Linked DNA regions of Homo sapiens: region 1 is linked to region 2. The links are contacts of gene promoters, found by promoter capture Hi-C in blood cells and fetal thymus (Javierre and others, 2016). All regions are on one chromosome and are shown on one strand. The core of a region is centred on a gene start or on the middle of the fragment in contact, and the rest is flanking DNA. Distances in the headings are between cores, read along the strand shown.

Region 1 (5,453 bases), core at 878-3,377, 130 kb after region 2:
TTTACAAGAAAAAAAAAACAACCCCATCAAAAAGTGGGCGAAGGACATGAACAGACACTTCTCAAAAGAAGACATTTATGCAGCCAAAAAACACATGAAAACATGCTTACCATCACTGGCCATCAGAGAAATGCAAATCAAAACCACAATGAGATACCATCTCACACCAGTTAGAATGGCGATCATTAAAAAGTCAGGAAACAACAGGTGCTGGAGAGGATGTGGAGTAATAGGAACACTTTTACACTGTTGGTGGGACTGTAAACTAGTTCAACCCTTGTGGAAGTCAGTGTGGCGATTCCTCAGGGATCTAGAACTAGAAATACCATTTGACCCAGCCATCCCATTACTGGGTATATACCCAAAGGACTATAAATCATGCTGCTATAAAGACACATGCACACGTATGTTTATTGCAGCACTATTCACAATAGCAAAGACTTGGAAGCAACCCAAATGTCCAACGATGATAGACTGGATTAAGAAAATGTGGCACATATACACCATGGAATGCTATGCAGCCATAAAAAATGATGAGTTCATGTCCTTTGTAGGACATGGATGAAATTGGAAATCATCATTCTCAGTAAACTATTGCAAGAACAAAAAACCAAACACCACATATTCTCACTCATAGGTGGGAATTGAACAATGAGAACACATGGACACAGGAAGGGGAATATCACACTCTGGAGACTGTGGTGGGGTGGGGGGAGGGGGGAGGGATAGCATTAGGAGATATACCTAATGCTAAATGACGAGTTAATGGGTGCAGCACACCAGCATGACACATGTATACATATGTAACTAACCTGCACATTGTGCACATGTACCCTAAAACTTAAAGTATAATAATAATAAAATAAATTAAAAAATTAATGGATAGAAAAACCAGATAGAAGCTTGATGAGAAATGGAAGACCTGAACAACAGTATAAGCCATTTAGAGCTAATACACATATGGAGAACAGTCCACCCAACAACAGCAGAATACACATTCTTTTCAAGCGGATATGGAACTTTCTCTAGGATAGGCCATATCTTCGTCCACAAAATATGTCCTAATCATTTTTAAAACCTTGAAATAATACAAAATATAATTTACAATCACAATGGAAGAAACAACAGATACATAAAAAATGAAAACTGGAAAATTCACAAATATGTGGGAATTACAGAATACACTCTTAAACTAACAGTGAGTGAAGGAATAAATCACAAGCAAAATTATAAAACATCTTGAGACAAATTAAAATAAAAACAAAACATACCAAAACTTATTGCATACAGTGAAAGTAGAATTCAAAGGAAAATGTATGGCTATAAACAACTACATTTAAGAAAAAATCTCAAATCAGTAACTTCACTCTATACCTACGGGCAGTAGAAAAAACAAAAAAAGACTAAATCCAAAGCTGGAAGAACGAAAGAAATAATAAAGATTAGAGCATAAATAAATAAAATAGAAGGTTGAAAAGCAGTGGAAGAAATAAACATAGCTAGAAGTTGATTCTTTGAAAGATCAAACCTTTCACTATATTTACTGAGCAAAAGATGGAAGACTCAGTATTAAAATCATAAATGAAAGTGGCACCATTACTACCAACTTTACAGAAATAAAAAAGGATTATAGGACTATACTGTGAACAACTGTATAACAACAAATTAGGTGCCCTGGATGAAATGGATGAATTGCTAGAAAGACACAAACTACCAAAATGGCTCAAGAAGAAAGAGAAAATCTGAATAGACAAGGAGATTGAATTAGTAATCGAAAGCGATATAACAAAGAAAGATTTATGACCAAATAGCTTCATTAACTGGTGAGTCTACCTAACATTTGAAGAATTAACACCATTTCTTCCCAAACTTTTCCGACAAAATGTGTGAAGAAGGAATACTTGCTAATTCACTTTTTGATAACAGCATTATCCTGATACCAAAGCCGAGATCGCGCCATTGCACTCCAGTCTGGGCAACAAGAGCGAAACTCCGTCTCAAAAAAAAAAAAAAAAAAAAAAAAAAAAAATCAGTGTAATATACTATAATAGTAAAATGAATAAGCACATGATTATTTCAGTTGATGCAGAAAAAACATTGATGAAATACAACACCCGTTTATGATAAAAATACTCAATAAACTAGGCATAGAAAGGAACTTCTGCAATATGACACTAGGATATATAAAAAACTGACAGTTAATATCATGCTCAATGATGAAACACTGAAAGCTGTTTCCCTAACATCTAGAACAAGGCAAGGATGGTGACTTTGCCCCTTCTATTCAACATAGCACTGGCAGTTCTAGCCAGAGAAATTAGGCAAGACAAAGAAATAAAAGGCATCTAAATTAGAAATAAAAAAAGAAGTAAAATTATATCTACACATTATCATATATCTATGAATCTCCAAAGAAAACACAAAACCCATTAGAACTAATAAAATAGGCAGGATGCAAGACAAACATATGCAAATTAGTTTTATTTCTATATAGTTGTAATGAACTATCAAAACATTTTTAAAATCCCATTTATAATAGCATCCAGAAATAAGATATTCAGGCATCAATCTAACTATGGTGGTATACACAAAACTTTGCTGAAAGAAACTAAAGAGAGTTGAAATAACTGGAAAGATATTCTGTGTTCATGGATTGTAAGACAATATTGTTAATATGTCAATACCATCTATAGTAATCTATAGATTCAATGCAATACCATCAAAACCCCAAAGACATTTTTTGCAGAAACAGAGAAACTCATTCTAAAATTCATACAAAAACTCAAAGGATCTGACATAGATGAAACGATCTTGAAAAAGAACATTGGAAAACTCACATTTTCCAGATTCACAACGTGCTACAAATCTACAGTAATCAAGAGAGTGTTTTACTGGCATAAGACCAATTGACATTTAGACCAATAGAATAGAATTGAGATCCTAGAAATTAGTCTTCACATATATGGTCGACGACTGTTCAACAAGGGGGCCAAGACCAGTCAATGGAGGAATGAACAGTCTGTTCAACAGCTGGGTATCAGTGCACAGGAGAGAAGTTAGACCCTTGCCTTGCACTATATACAAAAATTAACTCTAAATTAACAGAAGACTTAAATATAAGGACTAAAATGTGTAACTCTTGGACGAAAACACACAGGAAACCTTCATGACCTTTGAGTCTTAAGTGTTTTTTGAAATATGACAGAAAAGCACAGATAACAAAAGAAAAAATACATAAGTTAGATTTAATCAAAAACTTTCATGCATCAAAGGACACTATCAAGGAAATGAAAAGACAACCCATAGTATGTGAGAAAATATGTATCTGATAAAAGAAAAATGTGTATCTGATAAAAGCTTAATATCTCAAAACTCAACAACAGAATTTCTAACATCCCAATTAAAAAATAGGCAAAGGACCTGAATAGACGTTTCTCCAAAGAAGATAAACAAATGTCTAATAAGAACAAGAAAAGATGCTCAACACCATTATTCATTGATAAAATGGAAAACCAAACCAAAATGAGATGCCACTTTGCTTCCACTAGTATGGCTTTCATAACAACGACACAGAAAATAAATGTTGCTAAGGAGGTGGAGAAATTGGAGCCCTCATGAACTGGCTGCTAGGAATAGAAAATGATGCACTTGCTGTGAAAAACAATTTGGTACTTCCTCACAGAATCACACAGAGAACCAGAAATTCCACTCCTAGGTATGATACACAAAAAAGTTGACAGCAGGGTCTTGAACAGATATTTTTACACCAAAGTTAATTGCAGCATTATTCGCCATAGCCAGAGACAACCCTTGTCCATCAACGAATGGATACACAAAATATAATACATAAATAATAGAATATTATTCAGCCATTAAAGGGGATGAAGTTCTGATACATGCAACATGGGTGAAACTTGGAAACATGATGCTGAGTGAAGTAAACCAGACATGAAATGACAAATGTTGTATGATTCTGCTGATATGAAATATCTAGAACAGGCAAATCTGTGAAGACAGAATGAAGATTAGTGTTTACCAGAGACTGGGGAGAGGAAGTAATGGTGAGTTACTGTTTAAGGGTACTTTATTTCTTTTTGTGATGGAAATGGAGATGCTGGTTGTACAACACTGGGAATGTACTTAATGCTATGAATTATGTACTTAAAATTGTTAAAATTTTAACACAATTAAAAAATTTAAATACAGATCTGATAATTATTTCTATATCCATTGTTATTTAAAAGTTATTTGCTCAGTTGCCAAATATTAAGGTTTTTCTGAACATATTTTTGTTATTGATTTTTAATTTAGTCCTGTTTTGCTCAGAGCACAAACTGTCTATGATTTAATTTCTTTTATATTTAGTGAGAATTATTTGATGGTCCAGTACTTGATCTATCTTGATTAATGTTCCACAGACATTTGAAAAGTAGATCTGATTATCATCACCTTTACTCTGTTGATGTCTGTTTCACATTTTGAAGTTTCATTAGGTTCATCCATTTAAGATTGTTAATTTTATGAACTGGCCTTTTTTGATTATGACCTGACACCTTTATCTTTGGCAGTACTCCTGTTTTGAAGACCACTTTATCTAATATTAATATGGGCACACCATGTAGGGTTAGTATTTGCATGGCACATTTACATCCATACCTTTGCCTAAATGATGTAATAATTACTTTCCAAAACCACCTCCAAAGATGTTCTAAAACTATTATAATTAGGGATAGTTTCACCAGATCTTTCAAGAACTTTTAAATACCAGGGCTTAGATGACACTGATACCAGGGTACACAAAAATGCCATTAAGATACCTATTATAATTGGAATTTTCAGGGATCAGCTGATAAATGGCTTTCTGGTCCGCCTTTCTCTCACATTAGTCTAATGGGTTTGTTAAACTACCCTGTGTTCATTGCCCTGGTCATCGAGGACATAATTGAAATGGATGTACACAGCAACTTACAGAAATTGCATTGGTTTGTTGAAATGTAGAATAAGATCAATTATGGTAGGGAAGACCAAGCAAAAGTTCCGGTATTAGGCAGCGCTTTTCATAGAAACAGAATCAATAGGACACACACACACACACACACACACACACACACACACACACACAAACACACAGAGAGACAGAAGGATAGAGACAGAGAGAGAGAGAGAGACAAAAAGAGATAAATAAAGAAAATTTATTGTGGAAATTGGCTCACACAATTATGGAAGACAAAAAGTCCCATGCTATGCCATCTGCAAGCTGGAGAACCAGGAAAGCCAGTGATGTAATTCAATGAGTCTGAAGACTAAGAACCAGAAGAGTCAATGGTGTAAGTCCTGGCATCCAAACGCTCAAAAACTGGAGCTCCTCAGGGGAAGAGAAGATGGATATTGCTGTTATAGAAGAGGAAGCAAATGTGCCTTTCCTCTGCCGTTTTGTTGTATTCTGGCCTTCA
Region 2 (5,363 bases), core at 1,455-3,954:
ACAGTGGGCTTCTTTCAGTTCTTCTCTGGACTCATGCTCCCTTGCAACTCAGGGTCTTTGCACCTGCTATTCCTTCCAGTGGAGCCACTCTTCCCTCACCTTTTCACCGTGTAAAGTCCCACTGACCCATCACCAGCTTAAGACAGTGTCATTTTTCTAGGTGAAATCTCTAACATTTTCTGTGCTCTGAGAGATGGACCCGTATGGAGTATATCCAGGGGAGATTCCAGAAAGAGATTCAGTGTAGAGAAGTGAGATCAGACATTTATTCTCCCTGCTCCTTCTCTGCCAGAATATAATTGGTTGGTTATGTTCCTCTATCAAAGGTCATGGCTCCTGTCAGGCAATTCTCTCCAAACGTCTCTCTCTGGGCTTAGGTAACTATTTCTTTCCTAGGTCCCGGGAGACTCCATCATCCCTTGTAGTTTCACTCCTGCTTTACCTTTTTTTTTTTTTTTTTTTTTTTTGAGACGGTCTCACTCTGTCACCAAGGCTGGAGTGCAGTGGCAGGATCTCAGCTCACTGAAACCTCCCCCTACCAGGTTGAAGCGATTCTTGTACCTCAGCCTCCCAAGTAGCTGGGATGACAGGCACACACCAACACCCCTGGCTGATTTTTGTATTTTTAGTAGAGACAGGGTTTCACTATGTTGGCCAGGCTGGTCTCAAACTCCTGACCTCAAGTGATCCACCCACCTCAGCCTCCCAAAGTGCTGGGATGACAGGCGTGAGCCACTGCGCCCGGCCCATACTTTGTTTTAAAAAGTATTCTTATCATGCTCTACTAATGGTCATCACCTGCAGTTTGAAAAATGCCTTAACTGACACTTGTCCAAGTGATCCTTTCGCTGACTCGTCAGGCCAGATCAGGCTTCTGGGCACTCATGCCACTACTTTCCCGCAGAGCTGTGTTCACAATTTGTTACGTTAGTGTCAGTTTCCCCCCACTAGACAACTGTTCCATGAAAGCAGCAACATGACAACGATGCTCACAGTTGTATCAGGTGCTAAGTCTCAGTGCTCAATAAGTATTTGTGGAACGAATAATACACGAGCAAACGAATGAAACTCACACTTAATGTGTTATTCCTCCCAGGAGGACTTCCATATAGAACTTTGACAAATCAATATCTAATAGTGAAATTTCTAGCACATTTCTTTCTGGGACAGGGAACACTGGGTGGGGTAGTAGGCTACAAGGTACAAGTTCTATCCTGTTGTATTTAAGAGAGGATCTGATTTTAAAAGTGACTTATATACATCTATTTCATACAACTTCGGAGTCATACTTTACTCTCTCTCATTCCTCATCCACCAGCAAATCTTGCCAGAATTTAAATATATTCAGAATTCCAGTACTCAATATCCTCTGTTTACACACCATCACCTCTCATCATAGTCACTACAGGAACCTATAATTATCTTCCTGCTGATACCCTTGCCTCCCTTCACTTTCAACACAGTGACTTTGTCAATATAGAAGTCAGATAGAGTCACCCTTCTGTTCAGGACCCTTAAATAGTTCCCATCTCAAAGCAGGGGAAGCCTCTTTTACATACTTCCCATCTCAAAGTGGGGAAAGCCTCTTTTACAGTGGCCTCTCTGCTTAATTTTCTTCACAGAAATTATCATCTTCTAACGTGTCATCTATTTTTACTTGCTCATTGTGTTGCTCCGCCTCGTAGGATATAAGCTCCACGAGGGCATAGATTTGTTTACTGCCGTGTCATCTTACACAAACCTTGGTACAGGGTAGTCATTCATTAAACTATGTGTTAAATAAATGAATGAATCCATAGGATAACCCAAATAAATATGCAATAATTCGGAAATGTGAATCTCTGGCGTCCACTAATCCACCTCTACAAGTATCTACGGAGGACCTACTAGGTGCGGACACGAGGCAGCTAAACGAGTTCTCCTAAAAGGGCGATAAAGCCTCCTGCAGGCAGTCCTCCTCATACCTCGGATCCAAAAAGAAGAATGGAGGTAAGAACTTAAGTCATTTCATTCATTTTTTTTTTCTTTTGTAGAGGTTGGGGGAGGTGGTCTCACTATGTTGCCCAGGCTGGTCTCGAACTCCTGGCCTCAAGCGATCCTCCCGCCTCGGCTTCCCAAAGAGCTGGGTTTACAGGCGTGAGCCACTGTGCCCAGTCTCATTTCTTGAAAGAGATAAATAAGTAGAGGGGAGAAAAGAAGTATAGAAAAAGAAAAAAGAGAAGGAAGAGGTCCTGCTGCCTTCGTGCTCCCGGCCTTTCTCTTCCATGCTAGATTAGGATCCCAGAATTTCCGTTCTGTCTATTGCTGTGTGTATCGAGAGAAAAGCACCCCACTGTTGGCAAATCAATCTTACAGTCAATCATTCTTTAGGCAGCGGGAACATCCTCCACTCAGGGTTCGCCTTTCCACCTACGGCGTCCGGGGACGCAGGAAGTAAACTAAGTTGTTTCTATGGCAACGCACAGCTTTGGCGGATTTAGCTGGCTACCATTTTGCCTTCCCTTGTTCCCAAGTAGTACATTTTGCAGCCTACCAAGATGAAAGGACTTAGGAAAATAATTGTAAGAGTGCTATTGAATGTGGCTTATTTCAGTGCGAAGCCGATTTCCGAGGATTGTTTTTCTGGCGTTTGGAGAAGATGCCTAAATTGAGGGCGGAGTCGAAAGATGTTTAATCCCACAAGGCCACGCGGCGGGGCCTCGTCCTTCTCTTACCGCCATCTTGGCTCCTGTGGAGGTGAGTGAAGGGTCTGCTGCTGAAATTTGGGGGCAAATAACCGGAGTAGGTTTGTTCCTGTGCCTTGGCGAGTCGCCGGTGCGTATCGGAGTCTCTGCCAGCCATTGATTTCTACGGGTTTCAAGAAGAGGGAGAACAGGATGGAGGAGATGTTGGGCTGATGGTGTTTGGTCCCCTGACACCCGGAGAACGGCTGCCCGGGTTATCCCAGTTAAATTCCTGGGCCTGAACGGAGTGAAACGATGTTTTTGTTCGTGTGCAGTTGTCCATGAGGCAGTGCTTCCTTCATCCGTTTCCTCCCAGTCCATACCTTCCTTGGCTTGTCTGACCAGTCTCTTTCCTCAGCTTTTCTCCCCCAGCCATTGCATAAAAGTCTTACGTGTGTGTTTCTCTTTAAGGCTTCATTTCTTTTCCTGAGTGTTGCCTACTGATAACGGCATGCATTTTCTCAGGCTTTTCTGAGAGTCATTTTTGTGACTCCTGTCCCTTAGTTTTGTCTTCATTCTGAAGTTTGCTTAGATACCAGCTGTTCTCTGAGGTTTGAATGTCTTGCCGGACCCTGCGTTTCATATGGATGTTCTGGCATTGTTGTCCCCGAACTCCTACATGAAACTCCCATCCAAAAGGAATTTGCTTTAGGGGCTTAAACGAGAGGGGACGAGGTGGGAAACTTGTGTGGCTTGGTTTTAAACTAATCTTTTTGTTTGTTTTAAGGCCTGCTGGGAACGGGACTTCTAAAAGGAACTATGTCTGGAAGGTACGCGTTTTAAATATAGTTCTTTATTTTTGTGTGTTAGACGTGAACGTAAATGCGAGCTTAAAATTGGCAAGAAAAAACTTAGATGTTTGCTCTGAGTAACTTTTGGGTGGGGGTGATTACAAGTCAGATTGGTTTTTTGAAGCTTATGTTTCATGTTGTGTATCTTTTGTGTCTTAGGCTGTGGTCCAAGGCCATTTTTGCTGGCTATAAGCGGGGTCTCCGGAACCAAAGGGAGCACACAGCTCTTCTTAAAATTGAAGGTGTTTACGCCCGAGATGAAACAGAATTCTATTTGGGCAAGAGATGCGCTTATGTATATAAAGCAAAGAAGTAAGTTTATGACACTGGTAGGTTTTGGGTTTTTGAGATCTGCCTCATTTTCTTTTTTATATAACGGAGTCTTGCTCTGTTGCCGAGGCTGGAATGCAGTGACTTGGTCTCCCTCACCGAAACCTCCGCCTCCCGGGTTCAAGCAAGTGTCCTGTCTCAGCCTCCCGAGTAGCTGGGATTACAGGCGCCGGCCACCACGCCCGGCTAGTTTTTGTATTATTAGTAGAGACAGGGTATTGCCATGTTGGCCAGGCTGGTCCCAAACTCCTGACCTTAGGTGATCCGCCCACCTCGGCCTCCCAAAGTGCTGAGATTACAGGCTTGAGCCACCGCGCCTGGCCTCATTATCCTATTGAAATAATAAACAAAAGATTTAGCTGAAGTACTTGGTATTGTTTTTTTGTTTTTGTGACAAGAGTCTCTGTTGCCCAGGTTGGAGGGCAGTAGCGCGATCTTGGCTCGCTGCAGCCTCTGCCTCCTGGCTCAAGCGATTCTCCTGCCTCAGCCTCCTGAGTAGCTGGGCTTACAGGGGTGTGCCACCACGCCCGGCTAATTTTTGTATTTTTACTAGAGAATGGGTTTCCCCATGTTGGCCAGGCTGGATTGGTATTGCTGTGGCTTCTATTTTGCGTCATTAAGGAACTTAATGGGGAGTTTTAGAAGGACGTTACTTCTGAGGGTGGTGTTGGATTTAGGTACCTTTTGCACTTGTAAGCAATAAAGGAGGTAATTCCTTATATTGTGATCCTTTTAAGGTTTCTAATTTTTTTTCTCGGCTCCTTTTGCCAGAATTTAAGGATTTTTAGAACACTTGTGCTTAATGCATTTTGTTAATGCCTTAAAATTATGGGTTTTTTTTTTTTTTTTTTTTTTTTTTGGAGACGGAGTCTCACTGTCACCTAGGCTGGAGTGCAGTAGCACAATATCGGCTCACCGCAACCTCCGCCTCCCGGGTTCAAGGGATTCTCCTGCCTTAGCCTCCTGAGTAGCTGGGATTACAGGCGGCCGCCACCATGCCTGTCTAATTTTTGTATATTTAGTAGAGATGGGGTTTCACCATTTTGGCCAGGCTGGTCTTAAACTCCTGAACTTGTGATCCACCCACCTCAGCCTCCCAAAGTGCTGGGATTACAGGCAGGAGCCACGGTGCCCCGCCCCTTGTTTTTTCTTTTCTTTCTTTTCTTTTTTTCTTTCTTTTTTGAGACAGAGTTTTGCTCTTGTTATCCAGGCTAAAGTGCAATGGCACAATCTCAGCTCACTGTAATCTCTGCTTCCCGGGTTCAAGCGATTATCCTGCCTCAGCCTCCGAGTGAGGTGGGATTACAGGCGTGTGCCACCACACCCAGCTAATTTTATGTTTTTAGTAGAAACGGGGTTTCACAGTGTTGGTCACTCTGGTCTTGAACTCCTGACCTCAAGTAATCCACCTGCCTCGGCCTCCCAGAGTGCTGGGATTATAGCGCAAGTCACTGCACCAGGCCAAAATTAGTTTTTATGCATGCCTAAAGATGTTTATGCTGTAGACTTTTTTTTTTTT

What was found. Contacts are between HindIII fragments. The CHiCAGO score rates a contact against its expected background, and 5 or more counts as called.
Region 1: a fragment that was not itself captured here is called in contact with the fragment with the promoter of RPL35A in region 2 in 3 of 17 cell types (megakaryocytes, total B cells and naive B cells); the score reaches 8.1 in megakaryocytes.

The regions. Positions count from the first base shown.
Region 1 is chr3:198,082,369-198,087,821 of GRCh38, forward strand. No RefSeq gene overlaps it. Among named protein-coding and RNA genes, the nearest start is that of LMLN-AS1, 46 kb to the left of the region's middle. The HindIII fragment of the contact is 2,455 bases long and covers 901-3,355 here.
Region 2 is chr3:197,947,486-197,952,848 of GRCh38, forward strand. It overlaps RPL35A (ribosomal protein L35a), which reads left to right and starts at 2,705. Exons shown (of 5, transcript NM_000996.4): 1 at 2,705-2,736; 2 at 3,451-3,493; 3 at 3,674-3,826. The coding sequence starts at 3,483. The region is part of intron 2 of DRC9 (dynein regulatory complex subunit 9); the gene reads right to left. RefSeq lists enhancers at 2,108-2,327, 2,407-3,189, 3,973-4,754. The HindIII fragment of the contact is 8,868 bases long and covers 1-3,636 here.